Regions from separate parts of the Homo sapiens genome. Here region 2 is linked to region 1. Evidence: promoter capture Hi-C in human tissues and cell types (Jung and others, 2019). All regions are on one chromosome and are shown on one strand. Each heading gives the region's core, a stretch centred on a gene start or on the middle of the fragment in contact. The rest is flanking DNA. Distances are from core to core; before and after follow the strand shown. Region 1 holds the start of PRF1 (perforin 1). Region 2 overlaps SGPL1 (sphingosine-1-phosphate lyase 1).

Region 1 (4,727 bases), core at 334-2,833:
CCTAAGGCCTAATGGGGATCTAGGTGGATGGCTCTGTCCCCAGGACACAACTGTGGGTGGTGGGGAGGGGGCTGTGGCCACAGAAGAGGGGACAGAGTAGCTGTAGCAGGTTTAGGGAGGGGTCTGGGGACCTGAGGAAGCCTTCATTCTGAAGAAGTGTCATTTTTGGCCCCAGAACAAGCCACCCTTTGCCCACCCTGACTCTCACTCTGTTTCTTTGTCTCTGTCACTCTCTCTAACCTCTCTCCCTCCCACTGAGCCCTTAACAGAATTGGAAGAGAAATGAGGTCCTATATTGCACCTATTCTTCTCATTTTCCCTTTGGGGCTCTCCCTCTGAGCTTTATGGAATAACATCAGCCCGAATTCTAGAATAAAATCTGCCGACCTGGCCAGGTGTGGTGGCTCACACCTGTAAACCGAACACTGTGGGAGGCAGAGGCAGGTGGATCACTGGAGGTCAGAAGTTCGAGACCAGCCTGGCCAACGTGGTGAAACCCCCTCTTTACTAAAAATACAAAAATTAGCTGGGCATGGTGGCGGGTGCCTGTAATCCCAGCTACTTGGGAGGCTGAGACAGGAGAATCGCTTGAACCCAGGAGGCGGAGGTTGCAGTGAGCCAAGATCGTACCACTGCACTCCCGCCTGGGTGATAGAGTAAGACTCTGCCTCAAAAAAAAAAAAAAAAAGGGGCAGACCTGACCACACCCTTGGATTTTGTGTGGGGAGAGGCCTCGATGGTTGCTCTTCAGATCCTTTCTTGCTGCCCCTCCCCTCTTTGCCACTCCCTGCCAAGCTCTGTGGCCTTCGGCAGTGACAGGGGCCCCCCTATTGCCTACTATGGACAATGATTGTCTGGAAGGTTCTTCCTAATTTTAAGGTGTTTCTGGGGCCTTGCCTGGGCCTGTTTATGATCTGGAACCTCCTTTCTCTAACCTTACCCAAGCCTAACCTTATCCAAGCTGAGCTCTTCAAAGGCCTTTGCCCTTGGGTACCACAGGTTCTGAGACAAGAGGGCTATGGAGAGCCCCCATTATAGCTGGAGCCTCCTGCCCTGCCCAAAGGTGTGACTTGAAGGGTGGAATTTCAGGCAGCGTGGCTCGCCCCAGGGAGGCAAAGAGGCCAGGGGAATCTTCAAAGGCCCTGGGCTCATCCCAGCTAGGAGGCGGGCACAGTCATAACCCTAATCCAGTGAACTCAGCCCTCATCCTGACTCTCATGGTATTCTGTCCCAGGGAGCCTCTTTCCAGCTTTCTTAGAAGCTTTAATGTCAGCACTTGCAGGGCCTTAGAAACTGCACGCTACCTCTTCATTTCATACATGAGGAAACTGAGGCCCAGGGTGGACACAGGGCTGCCCAGCGAGTTAGTGATGGGCACCGTCTGTGACCCAGGTGTCTTGTCTTATAGGTCACAGCACTTCCTGCTCCATCAGCCTCTTCCCCTCCACCCAGGGCCCCAGGCCCCCCAATCCCTGCTCTCTCCTTACCTGGAATCCCGTATAGAGAAGCGGCTACACAGATGGATATCCTCTCTTCACCGAGGCTCCTGGAATGGTGGCATCAGCCCCCCAGGCAGCCCACTGTGGCTCCTTGCACCAGCCACCACTCACATCACTTCTACTTCCTGCCCCGCCCCCAGCTGTGGTCACAGGTCCTTTGTGCTCTCCCCTCCCACAAGCACCCACCCTGTCCTCAGCCCTCATCCGGCTCCCCACTGACAGCCCTCAGGAAGCGAGCAGCAGGGCCAGAGGCTCATCTGCCGAGTAGAGCTGCTGGGGCTCGGGGACTCAGGGCACACAGGCGGAGGAGGGCGGGGCGCTGAGGACTTTGAGACTCGGCCCTGGTGTTGATGAACAGGCCAGCAGGGCCATCTCCTTGCTTCTGATGCACAGCATCGCATGTGTGGGATGTAAGAGGCAAGCAGAGGCGGCGGCTCAGAGCATGGGCCTACACGCCAGACCGCCGGGGCTTGGGCAGCTCGGTTATGCACCAGCAGTGTGGACTGGTAGGGTTCTTCAGCCTCACTGTGCCTCAGTTTCTTCACTGAACAATTGGGATTGTAGGTCATGTAGACCCTAGGGGTTGTTGTGAAGTGCTTGGAACTGTGCCTGGCCCTTCTTGAGTGTCAGAGCCTGTGGCCATTCCCTCCTCCCTGAGTGGGAGAAGAGAGATGTTGCTCTAATCTTGCCATCCACTTCCTGCTCAACCTACATCCCACCCTAGCCCAGGCTCCGAACTCCAAGCATGTTCCTCGAACAGGGGCTCCTGCTCCTCGCTTTGTGAGGACAGCCAGTGGCCTCCACGCTGGCTCCAGCCCTGCTGAGGTCGTGGGTGCTGGTGAGAGTGGTCTGGTAGCACCGGAGGACATGTCTTCTGCACTCTGCCTTGCTTGAGGTCAGGGTGGGGTGAGGTTTCCATGGGTGGAGTGACTCACAGGGCACTGGGGGGCAAAATCACACGGCTTCTGGGGTGGGGGCAGCTGGGTAAGGGAGGAGGTGGTTCTCACAACTTGTTCTCATAACTGTGTATATGATGGGAAGAAGTGGCCGCAGGCTCCAGACCACATGTGACATCATGTCTCATGGGTCACACTTTGGGGCTCATCCCTTGCGTTTATGTCCCTGCTTCCGTCCCTGCTCTTACAGGAACAGGGGCTTATGCTGTCTTCTCGGAATCTGGCCCCATCTTCTCTCCGCAGTGTCCCCACCCTCTTCTAGAAACTGCAGCCTCCTGATCACTTTCCAGCTGTCACCCATGGCCTGACTTGGATGCTGAGGCTGTGAGGAGTTTCTTTCCTGACCATGACAGGAAGGCCGGTTTGAGGGACATAGAAGTCCTGCAAAGTATCTGCGGGAAAAGAGAGGCAAAGTCTAAACAGGTTCTGATCCCAGCTTCACCAGAAACTTACCGTATGCCTCACGGCGATAGATATCAACCCCCTTTCTGAGCGTTAGTTTCCTCACCTATAAAATCAAAGAGAGGACTTTGGAATTCTACACATCCTTCCAGCTAATGATAAAATGTACACTTGGCAGGTTTCAAGTGGCTTATGAAGTGGCTAATGCCCAAGAGATGCTAGTGGTTGTTAGGGGATCCATTAAAGAGCCGAAATGACATTGAGGGTGATGACTGTTTTTGACTCGTTTAACTGATGACAGCTGTCCTTCTGAAACTTGACACTTGAATGTGCATTAAGCAGAGTTTTTCCTCAGAGACACAAGTTTCAACAAGTGCGTAATTTGTTCAATCACCAGACACCATGTATATGGTTTTCTTTAGTAACAACAATCTTTAGATGTAATTCACATACCATATAATTCACCCATTTCAAGTATATGATTCAATGGCTTTAGTATGTTCACAGAGTTGTACAGCCACCGCTACAGTCAATTTTAGAACATCTTCATCACTTTCCAGAAATAAAACCTATACCCACTGGTGGTCATTTCTCATTTCTTTTTCTTTTTCTTTTTCTTTTTTTTTTTTTTTTTGAGATGAAGTCTTGATTTGTCACCCAGACTGGAGTGCAGTGGCATGATCTCGGCTTACTGCAACCTCTGCCTCCCAGGTTCAAGCGATTCTCCCACCTCAGCCTCCCCAGTAGCTGGGACTACAGGCATGCGCTACCACGCCTGGCTAATTTTTTTTTTTTTTTTTTGTATTTTTAGTAGAGACGGGGTTTCACCATGATGGCCAGGCTGGTCTTGAACTCCTGATCTGCAAGTGATCAGCCCACCTTGGCCTCCCAAAGTGCTGGGATTACAGGCGTGAGCCACCGTGCCTGGCCATTTCTCATTTCTTCATAACGCTAATCTACTTTATCTCTCTGTTAATTTTCCCATTTTCGACAATTCATATAAAAAGAATCATAGCATATGTGGCCTTTTGTGTCTGGCTTGTTTCATTTAACATAATACTTTCAAGGTTCATCCATGTTGTAGCATGTATCAGTACTTTAGTCCATTTCATGGCTGAATAATATTATATTATATGGACATATCACAATTTGTTTACCCATTCATAACTGATGGATTTATTGGTTGTTTCTACTTTTTAGCTGTTATGAATAATGCTGTTATGAACATTTGTGTACAGGTTACTGTGTGGACATATGTTTCCATTTCTCCTGAGTATATATCTAGGAGTGGACTTGCTGGGACATGTGGTAACTATAGGTTTAACTTTTTGAGGAAGTGTTTTCCAACGTGATTGCATTGTTTTGCATTTCTCCAGCAGCTTATGAGAGTTCTAATTCCTCCTTTCCAAATCAAACCAAGGTTCCACTAGTTCCTTGCCAAACCTTGATTATAGCCATCCTGGTGGGTGTGAAGTCGTACCTCATTGTGGTTTTGACTTGGATCTCCCCAGTGGCTAATGAAGTTGAACATCTTTCCATATGCTTATTGGCCATTTGTACACCTTCTTTGGAGAAATGTCTATTCAAGTCCTTTGCCCCTATTTTGAACTGAGTTGTCTTTTTATTGTTGAATTGTAATAGCTCTTTCTACGTTTTGACTTCTAGACCCTTGTCAGATATAGAATTTGCAAATATTTTTTCCTATTTTGGCAGTTGTCTTTCTTTTCACTTTCTTGAGGGTGCCCTTGAAGTATAAAAATATTTTACTTTTGGCCAGGCATGGTGGCTCACATCTGTAATGCCAGCACTTTGGGAGGCCAAGGTAGGAGGATCGCTTAAGTCCAGGAATTCAAGACCAACCTAGGCAATG
Region 2 (4,727 bases), core at 1,571-4,070, 260 kb after region 1:
CGCTGCCTTAAGAGCTGTAACACTCACTGTGAAGGTCTGCAGCTTCACTCCTGAGCCAGCGAGACCACGAACGCACCAGAAGGAAGAAATTCCGGACACATCCGAACATCAGAAGGAACAAACTCCAGACGTGCTACCTTAAGAGCTGTAACACTCACCGCGAGGGTCCGCGGCTTCATTCTTGAAGTCAGTGAGACCAAGAACCCACCAATTCCGGACACAGTAGAAGCCCATTGGGCTTTTCAATTTTATTTACTCTAATTTCATTCTAAAGAATTCTGTTTTGTAGTTCTCCTTTTATTTTATTATTATTTTTTGAGACAGGGTGTCACTCTGTTGCTCAGGCCAGAGTGTAGTGGTGCCATCTCAGCTCACTGCAGCCTTGACCTCTCTGGGCTCAAGCGACCCTCCCACCTCAGCCCCCTTGAGTAGCTGGGACTACAGGCATGCACCACCATGCCTCGCTAATTTTTGTATTTTTAGTAGAGATGGGGTTTCACCATGTTGCCCAGGCTGGTGTTGAACTCCCAAGCTGAAGTGATCTGCCTGCCTTGGCTTCTCAAAGTGCTGGGATTACAGGCGTAAGCCACCACGCTTGGCCGTCTTTTTTTTTTTTTTTTTTTTTTAATCTGCTTGGTTGTTTTTTATAGTCCTTTTCCTTGGCTTAACTTTTGTTTACTTAAATATATTACACATAAATATGTTGTATTCTGTGTCTGATAATTCCAATATCCATGAGCCTTACCTGATTCTGCTGGCTTCAGTCATGGTTCCTTGTTTCCTTATATTTGTGATTTTATTTTATTTATTTATTTTTTTATGAGCCACTCATTTTTCTGGGAACCTAGGGATTCTTTGAGGCCTAGATTGAAGTTAAGTCTGGAAGTTCTCTTCTTCCAGAGAAGATTTGTCATACCTTTTTGAGTTGCTGGGGATTGCCACCACACTGGAACCAAATTAAGTCAAATCCTTAGCTTGTCATTTTGTACCACAGAGGTAGTGTGAATTCTGACCACAAACTCACATAAAGGCTTCCTTGTTACACATTCTTGAAAGATTGCTATTTTTCTTTACTTGAACATCAGGGTTGAGAAAAACAGTTTTTCTTTTCTCTTTTGCAGTAGTGGGATTTATTTCTTGTACACTGTAGAGTGTGGTCTTTTTCCAGCCATCTCCTGTTGGACTCCTTATCTTGGGCAGTCTCTAATGTATCTTCTGGTCCATCCTTTGCTCATCTGTCAGTGTAGGAGTTTGAAGTCTGAAGGGTCTGGTGCCACCTCAGGGTGAAAGCTAGTTTTGCCACTCACTTATCTTGCAGGATTCTTGATTTTGCTTTGTTTGGGGGTTTAGCAAGTTTCTTTATGTTAGGTTAGTGATAGGTTTAAATTTTTTTTTTTTGATGTTTTATCAAGTTTTTTAGTTATTTCAGTTAGGAAGGTTGCTCAAGGTATATAATATTGCTAGAAATAGAAGTTCCATAATTGTTTTTTCCATGTTACAGACCTTCGTCTATTTGAAAGCCCCTTTCTCCCTGAATCTTCTCTGCCCCACATTTTTCTGGGTTACTCCGCTTTTCATATGATTTCACAGACTTCCAACCATCGCAGTCATTCTCTGTATGACTTTTGGTTGCCTCTGGCCAGATTGAACACAGTTCTCCACATTTGGAGTGGCATTGATCTTTCAATCTCTGTCTTTTTTAAATCTGGGTTCAATAAACTTATTTCAGACCTTTTCCTTGAAGTCAGCATTTTTATTCTTGGCAATGTTTATTTTATTCCTTGCTGTTCCTAATGTCTTTGTTAGTTCTGTATGGATGCTACTGGCTTTGTTTTTTTAGGTCTGTAGCTCATTCTTTTTGTTTCATGGTCTAGGTTTTGAACTCTTTGTTTTCTTAAATTCATGTTCTTATGATATTTTCCTATAGTGAGAAAGTTATAAGGGGTTTCCTTCATCCCTTAGCTTGTTTCCTTCTGTGTTGGGTTTTTATTTTGCATGCTACATACTACCTTTTCCCCTGCCTTTTAGTTTGTTTGCATAGTTTCCTTGCCATTTTCTCTCATCTTGGGGTGGCATTCTCCAGACATTGTTCTTATGCACTGTGGGTGCTTCCTGTCTGAGACCATTTGGCTGGGGACAAAGCTCAGCCAAAGCTTTGTTCTATCTGTATTAGAATAACCAGGTCTATTCTGAGATTCTCTTCAAAGTTACCTATCAGAGTTCACTCTCTTATTTGGAAGAGATAATATACCCTTTGAGCTCTGATTATTTAATTCACTGAAGTCTTCACTCTAAAGAGCCAATCCTGATGTTCTCTCTTCATTTTGCTCATTTCTCCCTAGCAGCCATGTTTACCACTCACTCATGAGAAGAAGAAGAAAATAAGGAAACCCCCTCAGCTTGCCTCTGCAGATTTGGGGGTATAAAGGAAAATTCTCAGGATTTTGCTGACTTTGCGGTACAGTTTCAAGGGCTGATTAGAAACTAGTGTTTTGCTTACTTCTGCTCTCTGCTGTTTCACTGTTTCTTTTTTTTTTTTGATTGCCAATATTTGAAGTTTATTGCCTAGATTATCTCTCTTTCCTTGTTTGGTTGTTGTTATTGTAGATTTTGACTCTTTTCTCTCCCTGCACTCACCCTTTTTTTTTTTCTTCCCATCTTACTCCTGAAGTCCAGGCCTAGGGGTTTTTTGCATTGCTGCAATTAAACCATATCTCTATTATTTTGATCTTCAGCACGTGTGAGGGATCAGAAGAAGGATAGAGTCTGATTCCCAGGCTCTTCTAATATTTAGACTTTTATAAAATAACTAATCAGCACTGGTATTGTCTTTTTCCCTCTCCCACTCTGTCTCCCCCACTCCTCCCTTAGCTTCTTACTTCTCTCTCTGGATGAGCTGCTTCTAGTGAAGAAAGAGTTCACTGTTCAGAGGTGGGAAGCCAGAAGATAAAACCAAATGGCTGGGCAGTCTTTAGGTTATTCCTAGCTAAGAGTTAAGAGTTGTAAGCTCTCTCATTCTTTGTTCTTCAGCCTTAAACTATCTTTCCTTCTATTAACTTTATTTGTCTCAGTTACAATGATAGAGGTAACTTCACATACTAAAAGAAATTAGGTTACCATGTGAAACATTCTTCTTGGCTTGTGCTAATGTTATCAGATCCAAACAGCATCTGAAAGAAAATTTTCCAAGTAGATGTTGTTCTCTTGTTTTCTGAAATACATATCATATGTTAAAGTGAGAGTTTTTATACATGTTGAAAGAAGTTGAATGACATAACAAATAGTTACTGAGGCCTCCATTTTCTTACTTCACAGTTAAAATTCCTGTTTCTCTTTGGGTATAGGAGGTAGAAAGAAGTGGGAGAGTAATAGCATTTTAAAACACAGAATCAAAAATACATATTAAAAGTAGAACTTAGGCCCAGGCACAGTGACTCACGCCTGTAGTCCCAGCACCATGGGAGGCTGAGGCAAGTGGATCGCTCGAGCCCAGGAATTCGAGACCAGCCTGGGCAACTAGGTGAAACCCTGTCTCTACAAAAAATACAAAAGTTAGCCAGGCATGGTGGGGTGTGCCTGTAGTCCCAGCTACTTTGGGGGATGAGGTGGGAGGATCTCTTAGGCCTGGGAGGTGGAGATTGCAGTGAGCCGAGATCACGCCATGGCACTCCAGTCTAGGTGAAAGATTGAGACCCCATCTCAAAAAAAAACAAAAAAGAAAAAAGTAGAATTTAGGTATTCCTACTTTTACAGTCAAAAGTCCACTGGTGTTTGCATAACAATGATGTTTTGACTAGTTATTGGACTAAAAGTAGGACACATGAAGCAGGTGACTAGGAATTTGGAAATATTATTGCTTAGGTCATTACTGGACCTTACGAAGAGATTGTTGCACTGGTGACTTGGACTTTGCTGGTCCCTCCCCGACTCTTCACAGCTGGCTTGACGACTCTTGTGACATTCTGAGGTTTTATGCTAAACCACAGGACATGCTGCTGATTTGCAGAGCTGACCTCAGCTGTAAGCACTTTGTCTTCTGCAGCGTAGAAATGTAGTGACCTACAAGTGTCCCATGCCCAAGTTGGGTGCATTATTTTTTGGTGATGGTCACATGTTTCATAAAGACTTCCTGAGTCAAAAAATGACTTTTCTCAGTTCATCTTCCATATAACTCCTGGCCACAGGGATTTTGTATCCAATGGTATTTTTGTTCTATGTGTGGATATTATTTTAGCAAAGTTCAGTGGTCACTTTCTCTGATTCCATCTTGTATTAAGCTACACTAAATATGAAAACGTAGAAAGTTTTACTTCTTATCAACAGATGCTAATGTATGACATTGAGTGAAACACTTTAATTCCTCAAGGGCTCAGTTTTCTCACCTGTAAATTGAAAAAACCTTTCAAAGATTGTATGAATCTTCAGAGATGGTAAGTCTAAGAAGTTGTCCAACTAGTTTAGTATTGTGGCTTTTTGTTTGTTTTGGAATGATTCATTCTCATATATTATTTTTTAAAAAAATAGCCAGGTGGCTATGACATGCCTGTGTTGGTCAAGGTTTACTGAGAGTCAAGTCAGGCATTAAGAAATGTGAAGGCCAGGTGCAGTGGCTCACACCTGTAATCCCAGCTCTTTGGGAGGCTGAGGTGGGCAGATCACTTGAGGCCAGGAGCTTGAGACCAGCCTGGCCAACATGGTGAAACCCCGTCTCTGCTAAAAATACAAAA

The links. The method cuts DNA at HindIII sites, captures the fragments that hold promoters and counts their contacts. A contact is called where the count stands out against the background at its distance.
Region 2: a contact is called between a fragment that was not itself captured here and the fragment with the promoter of PRF1 in region 1, in 4 of the 25 tissues and cell types used here (H1 embryonic stem cells, IMR-90 fibroblasts, hippocampus and 1 more).

What each region holds. Positions count from the first base shown.
Region 1 is chr10:70,601,158-70,605,884 of GRCh38, forward strand. PRF1 (perforin 1) reads right to left here and starts at 1,584. Exons shown (of 3, transcript NM_001083116.3): 1 at 1,488-1,584. The HindIII fragment of the contact is 18,183 bases long and covers 1-4,727 here.
Region 2 is chr10:70,862,686-70,867,412 of GRCh38, forward strand. All of the region lies in intron 7 of SGPL1 (sphingosine-1-phosphate lyase 1), which reads left to right. Among named protein-coding and RNA genes, the nearest start is that of PCBD1, 24 kb to the right of the region's middle. The HindIII fragment of the contact is 9,380 bases long and covers 1-4,727 here.